Regions from separate parts of the Homo sapiens genome. Here region 1 is linked to region 2. Evidence: promoter capture Hi-C in 16 types of primary human blood cells and fetal thymus (Javierre and others, 2016). All regions are on one chromosome and are shown on one strand. The core of a region is centred on a gene start or on the middle of the fragment in contact, and the rest is flanking DNA. Distances in the headings are between cores, read along the strand shown.

Evidence for each region. Contacts are between HindIII fragments. The CHiCAGO score rates a contact against its expected background, and 5 or more counts as called.
Region 1: a fragment that was not itself captured here is called in contact with the fragment with the promoter of CLEC18B in region 2 in 3 of 17 cell types (endothelial precursors, M1 macrophages and erythroblasts); the score reaches 10.3 in endothelial precursors.

Annotation. Positions count from the first base shown.
Region 1 is chr16:74,616,400-74,621,131 of GRCh38, forward strand. No RefSeq gene overlaps it. Among named protein-coding and RNA genes, the nearest start is that of GLG1, 12 kb to the left of the region's middle. RefSeq lists an enhancer at 4,362-4,732. The HindIII fragment of the contact is 683 bases long and covers 2,809-3,491 here.
Region 2 is chr16:74,418,712-74,423,609 of GRCh38, forward strand. It overlaps CLEC18B (C-type lectin domain family 18 member B), which reads right to left and starts at 2,767. Exons shown (of 12, transcript NM_001385193.1): 1 at 2,436-2,767; 2 at 1,790-1,881. The coding sequence starts at 2,559. LOC107984827 (a long non-coding RNA gene) reads left to right here and starts at 3,409. Exons shown (of 3, transcript XR_001752253.3): 1 at 3,409-3,731. The HindIII fragment of the contact is 28,054 bases long and covers 1-4,898 here.

The DNA of each region.
Region 1 (4,732 bases), core at 1,900-4,399, 200 kb after region 2:
AGAAATTGTTTAGACTACTAAGCTAGGACATTGGTGACTTCATATTGACAAGACTTAAGGGATTAAAAATGAAATAACAGGCCAGGCGTGGTGGCTCATGCCTGTAATTCCAGCACTTTGGGAGGCTGAGGCAGTGGATCACTTGAGGCCAGGAATTTGAGACCACCCTGGCCAACATGGCGAAACCCCGTCCCTACTAAAAATATAAAAAAATTAGCTGGGCATGGTGGTGTATACCTGTAGTCACAGCTACTTGGGAGGCTGAAGTGGGAGGATCACTTGAGCCTGGGAGGCAGAGGTTACAGCAAGCCGAGATTACACCACTGCACTCCAGCCTGGGTGACAGAGTGAGACCCCATTTCAATTAAAAAAAAAAAAAAAGAGTAACAAGTAACATATTTCTAGACACCCCCACATTATCCAGCTAAGAGACCTGAACTTGTCTGTCACAGCAACCTCAGTGACTGTCTAGACGAGAATCTAAGACTCCTGGAGAAGAAAAACTCACCCAGCATTCTGATCTGTAGACAGTAGAGACCGGACTGTAGTTTGAATATTACTTCCTTTATGGCAATTTGCCAGTTTGCAGGAATATCATGTCTTTTGGAGAGGGTCTCAATCAGAGAAACAAATGTTAGCATTTGATATTTCGTTTACTTCCTTGACTCAAGGGCAAGTGACTCCTGTGAGCTGAGGGGGTAGCATACTGTTTGCCTAGTGAAATACCATCTCTCTATCTCAAGTCAGGACATCATCTTCAAGAGAGGAACTGGGGTCATCGCTAACTCTGGAGCTTCCACTGGGGTACAAGTGAGGTGTCAGAACTTCACTGAGCTTAGATTCCGTGGCAATTTCCCATCTTCCCCCCTACCCTGTCACCCTTTCTCATGTTAGGCCCTCATTGTTTCCCATATGTTCCTGCACAATCTAACCAGCAATTTTTTGTACCAGGCTTATGAGAAAGGAGGAAGCCACATCATCACTCAACACCCCCTCCATAGCTCAAGCCTGGGAATTCCCCTGGACCCTCCTGGAGGCACTCTTTTTAACTCTGGTGACATTTCTCTTAAATGGGAGGGTCTACAGGCATTGGAGTTTGAAGGCAGAGCATAACCATTTATCCAGGGCAGGCATCCCCTTCTTTATTCCAGGAAATAAGTGGCCTGCCAACTTCCCACTTACAACTTTCATTAACCAGCAGCTTATCCAACTGTTGGCAGCTCACACAGAGCTGGCTTAGGTAACAAAAGTGCCAGTTTTTTGTTTTTGTTTTCTTTTTTTGAGACAGTCTTGCTCTGTTGCCCAGGCTGGAGGGCAGTGGTACAGTCTAGGGTCACTGCAACCTCTGCCTCCCAGGTTCAAGCAATTCTCCTGCCTCAGCCTCCCAAGTAGCTGGGATTACAGGTGCCTGCCACCACGCCTGGCTAATTTTTTGTATTTTTAGTAGAGACGAGGTTTCACCATGTTGGCCGCGCTGGTTTTGAACTCCTGACCTCGTGATCCACCTGCCTTGACCTCCCAAAGTGCTGGGATTACAGACGTGAGCCATCGTGCCCGGCCATTTTTTTTTTTTTTTTAACCCAAGCATCTGTTCAGTGATGTCCTGAACTTTGTTTCCCCCTCAGCCTTCAACTCTCCCTTTATCCAAATCCAGATATTTAAGTTGGTACCTATGTTCAGCCTCTAAGGAAGCCTTTCTGCTGGGTGTCTGTAACTGGATAAACCTGTTATTACTCCTCAGGGACCAGCGTGGGTTCATGGCACTCCTCACATCTCGACAGTAGACTCCTTATTCAGCTGGCCCTGCACCCTGCTTTCTAGAGCAAGCCCAACAGCTCCTCCACCTTCCTCCTCTCTTCAGCTGACCTTTCCGATGACCACTGCTGGGCAGTTCTAGCCCATGTGTCATAGCCTCTTCTATGAACCCGTTTTTTCTTCTATTGGACAGTGGGGTTCCCAGCCTCAGCACCCAGAAAACTACTTGAAGACTGTAGTGCCACATCATGAGTATGACTGTCTGCTTTGTTGTAATTTTCAATGCAGAAGAAATAATTTGTGGGGGCTTAGCCTAGGGTGTTCTGGAGACAGAGCTATGAAGAGTGAAAATGAGCTTTCACCCAGGCTCTCCAACTCCTGCTTTGCTGTTGGTAACACAAAGTATAGACTGGGAAGACGAGGACATATAAAATTTAATTAAATACCATCTGTCATTTTCCTTTATTAGGATTTTTTCTTTTTTTTTTTTTTGAGGTGAAGTCTTGCTCCCGTTGCGCAGGCTGGAGTGCAGTGGCGCGATCTTGGCTCACTGCAACCTCCACCTCCCAGGTTCAAGAAGAAGCTGGGGCTGGGTGTGGTGGCTCACGCCTGTAATCCCAGCACCTTGGGAGGCCAAGGCGGGCAGATCACGAGGTCAGGAGATCGAGACCATCCTGGCTAACACGGTGAAACCCCATCTCTACTAAAAATACAAAAAAATTAGCCGAGTGTGGTGGCAGGCGCCTGTAGTCCCAGTTACTCAAGAGGCTGAGGCAGGAGAATGGCGTGAAGCCGGGAGGCAGAGCTTGCAGTGAGCTGAGATCGTGCCACTGCACTCGAGCCTGGGAGACAGAGCAAGACTCCGTCTAAAAAAAAAAAAAAAGAAGCTGGGATTACAGGTTTACGCCACCATGCCTGGATCATTTTTGTATTTTTAGTAGAGACAGGGTTTCACCATGTTAGCCATGCTGGTCTCGAACTCCTGACCTCAGGTGATCCATCCTCTTTGGCCTCCCAAAGTGCTGGGATTACAGGCATGAGCCACTGCACCCAAGCTTTATTAGTATTTTTAACCTGTTTCTTCCCCCGTAAGATAGAATAATAATATGTATTCCATAACATTAAGAATTACTTATTAGTAATATATATTTACTAAGATGTTACTTAATATATTAGTAAACCATAAAGAGATAAAACAGAGAGTGTTACCAACAAACATAAGTTGACTAAGAACAAGGACAAACAAATGTCTATTTTTAGAATTTTGGCCAGACATGGTGGCTCATGCCTGCAATCCCAATGCTTTGGGAGGCTGAGGCGGGAGGACTGCTTGAACTAGAAGTTTGAATCCAGTTGGGCAACAAAGCAAGACCCCCGTCTCTACCAAGAAAAAAAAAGCAAAAAAAAAAAAAAATTGGCTGGGCACAGTGGTCCACAACTACAGTCCCAGTTACTTAGGAGGTTGAGGAGACAGGATTACCTGAGCCCAGAAGTTTGAGGATGCAGTCGAGATAGGATAGTGCCACTGCACTCTAGCCTGGGTGACAGTGAGACCCCGTTTCTTAAAAAAATTTTTTTTCAGAATTTCACTTATAGTCAATCACTGACACGGAAAACAAAAAAAGGGTACTGTGAAAAACAAAAACAATGGTGTTGGGTTTTGTAATTTGGGGTTCACTTCTATCCTAGGACCTCTGTCATTTTCCCTTAGAGCACCAGGCTCCATGAAGTTAGTAAGCTTATACCTATGGATTCAGTTCTCCTGGAATCCAGTATACTCCATTTGCTGTTCAGCTGGAAACTGGAAAACATTTTCAGCCTTTCCAGCCTAATTCCAGAGCACCATGATTTATGGCAACGAAGATTCTTGAACTCAAACAGAACAAAGAAACTGAGGCAGGTGGCCAGAACTGTACTGAGCAGGAACCCTGAAACCCATACTTGCCCATTGCTGCTGCCACGGTCAGAAGTGCCACCAATGACTAAAAGAAATAAAGGGAACAAAAGTCCTCTCCTCCTCTCTCTTCCTCCCACTTTAAAGTCTCCTGGATTCAAAGAAACTAGCAGGAAGCCAGCAGACAAGTCTGGGAAATGTAGATCCCTAGATCTGAGAGTAAATAGACATAAGACCAGGACATTTTTTTTTTTTTTTTTTGAGACGGAGTCTCACTCTGTCACCCAGGCTGGAGTACAGTGGTGCAATCTCAGCTAACTGCAACCTCTGCCTCGCGGGTTCAAGCAATTCCCCTGCCTCAGCCCCCTGAGTAACAGGTGTCCGCCACTACGACCAGCTAATTTTTATATCATTTAGTAGAGATGAGGTTTCACCTTGTTGGCCAGACTGACCTTGAACTTCTGACCTCAGGTGATCTGCCCACCTTGGCCTCCCAAAGTGCTGGGATTACAGGCGTGAGCCACACGGCCAGGGCACAGGGTTCTTAAGAGGCAAACACATCGCTTTCCACTGGCAACAGCAAAACAGAACCGCAAGCTAAAGCCTCAACCACTTCATTTGTGTGAAAAAGAGAAAATCTATGGCTGGGTGAGGTGGCTCATGCCTGTAATCCCAGCACTTTGGGAGGCTGTCAAGATGGACAAATCACTTGAGGTCAGGAGTTGGAGACCAGCCTGGCCAACATGGTAAAACCCCGTCTCTACTAAAAATAGACAAATAAGCCAGGCATGGTTGCAGGCGCCTGTAACTCCCAGGTACTGGAGAGGAATGAGGCAGGGGAATCGCTTGAACCCGGGAGGCAGAGGTTGCAGTGAGCTGAGATTGAACCAGTGCACTCCAGCCTGGGACAACAGAGTGAGATTCAGTTAAAAAAAAAAAAAAAAAAAAAGGCCGGGTGCGGTAGCTCACGCCTGTAATCCCAGCACTTTGGGAGGCTGAAGCAGGCAGATCACAAGGTCAGAAGTTTGAGACCAGCCTGACCAACATGCTGAAACCCGTCTCTACTAAAAATACAAAAATTAG
Region 2 (4,898 bases), core at 1,517-4,016:
ACACCTCTCTGCCCTAGTCTCCTGCCCCCAGGAGCCTGGCCTCATATGCTCCCCACCACGCACAGCTGACCCCGCCCCCTCCCTCTTCTTTTTTTTTTTTGAGACAGAGTCTCACCCTGTCGCCCAGGCTGGAGTGCAGTGGAGAAATCCCGGCTTACTGCAACCTCCGCCTCCCAGGTTCAAGCAATTCTCCTGCCTCAGCCTCCCAAGCAGCTGGGATTACAGCCATGTGACACCACACCTGGCTAATTTTTGTATTTTTAGTAGAGACGGGGTTTCACCATGTTGGCCATTGCTGGTGTCAAACTGCTGACCTTAGGTGATCTGCTTGTGTCAGCCTCCCAGAGTGCTGGGATTACAGGTGTGAGCCACCGTGCCCAGCCCCCTCCCTCTTCTTAAACAAGGGGCCTGGCAATCACCACCCCTGGGTGACTTGGTGCAGTCCCCTGATCTCCCGAGACTCCCTGAGCTCATCTGTAAACGGAGCAGGGAGGTGCCTGCAGGATAGGACTCACAAGCACAGAGTGGATGCAGGGAGGGGGGCCCCTCGGGGCTGCACCCCAAGCCAACTTCATCCTGCACTAATGTCCATCGGGGTTTTACCTCTGATGAAGGCTGGGGCCAGGAGCTGGGGGCTCCCCGGGGTCCCTCAGCAGCCCTCCACCCCCACAAGACCTTCAGTCTCCACTGTGTCCAAAGAAGGGGTGCCCTGGAGCCCTAGAGGCCCGGAGGGTGCTCGGGGCCGGGCCACGAGGGAGGCTGAGCCATGGAGCTCCATTTGCACCTTTATGGAAATGAAGTTTTCTAAGACTTTGACAAAAGGGCCCTGGAAAGGGTGCCAGCTGCCAGCCAACGACCACCGCAGCCCCTCCTGGGGTCCCAGGCAGGAGTACCCAACCACGGAGGTCACAGCTGGGAGCACCCCTGGTTGCCCAGGGTCTGAGCCTGAGGAGAGGCAGAGCCACTCAGGGCTGGGAATGGGGGAGAAGCGACCCCCCGCATTTAGCCACCCCACCCCCACCTCCTGGGAAACTGACCCTAGAGTGTTCAAGGTCGCCACTGTGGCCACCTGCCTTGGAGGAGTTCATGGGAAGCAGCCATGGGGAACCCTCCCGCCCCCACCACCCTGCCCTGGCTCCCTGGCCTGCTAACATGGGCTGGGGCTGCTGGGGTCCCAGACAATGGAGGGCAGCGTTTCTGAGCCTCCAGATGACAGTCCCAACCCCGCAGCCCCAGCCGGGCTGGTGGGGAACTCTATACCCCCGACCCCTGGCCCCTGCTGAAAATGTGGAAAATGTGGACGAGTGAGTGAGCAGAGAACATGGGCAAGGCCCGTCCTAGTGGCTCAGATAAGCTCAGGAGGAGGCGCTGGGTCCTTGCCGCACAGAAGCCCCTCCCCAGCCCAGCACGACCTTCTCCCTCCCTGGCCCGGCCGCCCATCCTGCAGGGCTCCTCGTGAAGCTCCCCTTCCCTGGAGGAGGGGATCCGGCTCCTCCTGTGGCTCCTGGTCTCTGTGGCAACAAGATGCCAGGGAAGGCCCAAGGTCCTGCCCTTCAGGCGAGTGGGAGCCAAGGGGCCCGACCTCCTGAACTGAGGGTGGGGGGTTAAGAAACTGCAGAGACCCCCAGCAACCAGGGCCTCCGTCCCTCAGGGGCAAGGTGGCTGGCTGTGCCTGCCCACCCTGGTCAAGTGGAAGGGCACCTGGACAGGCGTGGCCTCCTGAGCCGCCCTCTGGGGTCCGCGCCTCCGGCCACCCCCCTGGCAGAGCCCAGCTGGGTCGGGTACTCACCAGCCTCCGCATGTCAGCCGCAGGGGGCTGGACCCAGCTGCGCAGGCGGTTGTGCAGGGAGAGGAGCAAGAAACTCTCCTTCCTGTTCAGGGCTGGGGTGGGGAGAGAAGGTCAGGCAGCCCGAGGATGGGGGGACCTGAACCCAACACACGGCAGAATAAGCATGTGTCCCTGCCCTTGGAAAACAAGATGGGAGAGGAGTGTGGTGGGTGCAGGGGACGTGGGGCATAGCAATGGAGCGAGGCTGAGAGAGAGACCAGGTACAGCAGGCGTGGGCTGAGTGCTGGGGTTGGGGTGGCGGGAGGGAACAGCGGTGCGGGCTGGGTGTAGGGGCCAGCCCTGGCTCCCGCAGGCCCCTGTCTGGGGCTCCTCCGGGCCACGGATTTCTCCAGGCCCCAGCCACAGCGCTCCTCGGCGTTCCTCCTTGACCCCAGCCCTGGTCCTCCTTCCTCCTCCTTCCTCCTCCTTCCTCCCCAGTCCAGCATCCACCCCTCACCGCCCCCGGGCTGTCCCAGGGCTTCCTCATTAAACCACCCGCACGGCCTGGGGCTCAGGCCTGGGACCGGGCTTCCAGAAGTCTCCTAGCACCCACTCCTCAGAGCTCATAATGGTGCCTCCACCTACCTCCTCACCAGGTGTCCCTTACCTCCGGCCATCGGAGCCTGCTCCTGCAGCTGGGGTGGCCACACCTCTGCCCAGGTGGTGCCAAGGAGGGCCAGGAGCACAGCCAGGAGATGCCCCCGGCCAGGGGAGGTCTCTGGATGCAGCATGGGTCTGTTGGGCCCGTCAGGCGCTCCGTGCACAGCCTGGCTCAGCCACCCGGCTTGTTTCTCAGGCTGGATGGAGCTATTCACAATCTCCAGGAGTCAGGCTGGGCTGGTGGACAAAAGAGGGGGGCTGGTGAACAAAAGAAGGAGGCTGGTGAGTGAGTAATCAGTGTGTCCAGACAGCCTCCTGTTGGCGCTGGCATGAAAAGAGACAACTCCCGGGGATGCCTGCCTGCTCCGGCCTCGGCCTGGCCAGCCCGCCCCCGACAGCAGGCAGAGTGGCGTGCACTGCCCCGCGGCCCCTGCTAATCATTGTGGGATTATTAGCACCCTTGGGGAGCCCCCAGAGACCCCGCTGATTGGCCTGGGGACATTCCGGTGCTGCAGATTAGTGACCGATGGCCGTGTCCTGGCTGGGACAGTGTCCTCCGAGCCCACTGATGGCTTCCGCTCCCCAGCCCCGGGCCCTGGGAGGAGGACCTCGGCTATGGTCCTTCTGGTGAGCAGGAACTGGGCAAGACCCCAGGGGAGTTCTTTCCTTTCTTGGGAAGCTCGTCCCAACCCCCCAGCCATGAATTAAACATAGGCAAGAGGTAACCGCACACCAGAGGGGTGCAATCTGTGGGCTCAAAGGGGGGTGGGCTGAGGCCGCACCTGCACGAGGAAAAGGGTGCCTTAGGAAAGTCTGTCTGGGCAGGGTCGGGGGCTGGGCCCAGCCCCGGTGCCCACCACCCTCACCCACGTGACTACAGGCCAGGGGGGGAGTGAGGCAGGAGGAGTCAAAGCAGGCGGGGACCAGAGCACGTGATGCCCTGGGCTGACTCCAGTCCTGCTGGGATCACGTCCGCCTCTAGAAAAACAGGCGGCGTAGCAGGTGGGCAGCACGTTGCCATGATGTGCCGTGGCCCGGCCGTGGCTGGCGTGATCCCACCAGAGTGAGCTGGAGCAGATCTGCACCATGGGCCAAGTTTCTCAGAAAATACATGGCTTCCTGCGGGCTGCAGCCTAATGCCCACGTTCCTCTCGGGGCAGACCGAAGGTTATTCAACCAGGGCAAAGGACAGCCTTGCAAACCAACTACGTCCTCCTTCTGGAGTTTGTGTGACCCCTGGCCCCTGAGCCCACACCCTCTCGGAGCGGGGTTCCAACTCCGTGGAAGCTCTGCTGAGATGCAGGTAGGGTTGGCTTTCCTGGGGAAACACCAGTGGAATGTGGCTATCGTCATGGGTGCCAGGGATGGGGATGAGGCCAGGCATACAGGCCATGAAGGCGGTCTGGAACTGCATGTCCCCCACAATACCTAGGGGCTCAGGAGTTTCTTCTCCCTCAAACAGAAACCCAGCACCCTCAGGGTCACTGCGTGTGGGTCCTAGCAATGCTTAATAGCTACCTGTTTTTTGATGTATTTTTATTTTTATTTTTTAGACAGTTTCATTCTGCCACTCAGGTTGGAGTGTTATAATCTCAGCTCACTGCAGCCTTGACCTCTTGGGCCCAAGTGATCCTTCCACCTCAGCCTCCCAAGTAGCTGGGACCAGGTGTGTGCCACCATGCCTGGCTAATTATTATTATTTTTTTTGGTAGAGACAGGATTTCATCGTCTTGCCCAGGCTGGTCTCCAACTCCTGGGCTCAAGGGATCTTCCCACCTTGGCCTCCCAAAGTGCTGGGGTTGCAGGCATGAGCCACCACACCTGGCCGAGCCACCTGTGTTTATGGAGCTCACAAAGCCTGTTTGCATGTGTGAGTTCAAGTTATTGCCACAAGAACCTGGTGCAGTAGCAGATGGGATGCCCGTCGTGTAGATGAGGAAACGGGCTTAGTGTGTCTAAGGGGCTTGTCCAAGGTCACTCAGCGAGTGCATGGAGCATCCCAGCTAATCCAAGGTCTCTGCCTTCCCATTCCCAACGCTTTAATTCACATCCTGATCTTTCCCAGTGCAGTTTCCACAGCTCTGCTATGCCGGGTGATAAAAGACCCACTTCCTACAATTGGGCTTCCATGGCAAACACGGCCAGTTGACCCATATAGTATGATGCCAGGCACTTGGGACAGGCGGGAGAAAAAGATATTTTGGGGATTAGGGTGGAGCAACTTTTGAAGGGTCCCATGGCCCTGGCTCACTGCAAGAAGAGTCCCAGGCCGGGTGTGATGGCTCATGCCTGTAATCCCAGAACTCTGGGAGGCCAAGGCAGGCGGATCACTTGAGGTCAGGAGCTTGAGACCAGCCTGGCCAACATGGTGAAATCCTGTCTCTACTAAAAATACAAAAATTAGCTGGGCAGGGTGGTGGGTGCCTGTAGTCCCAGCTACTCGGTAGGCTGAGGCAGGAGAATTGCTTGA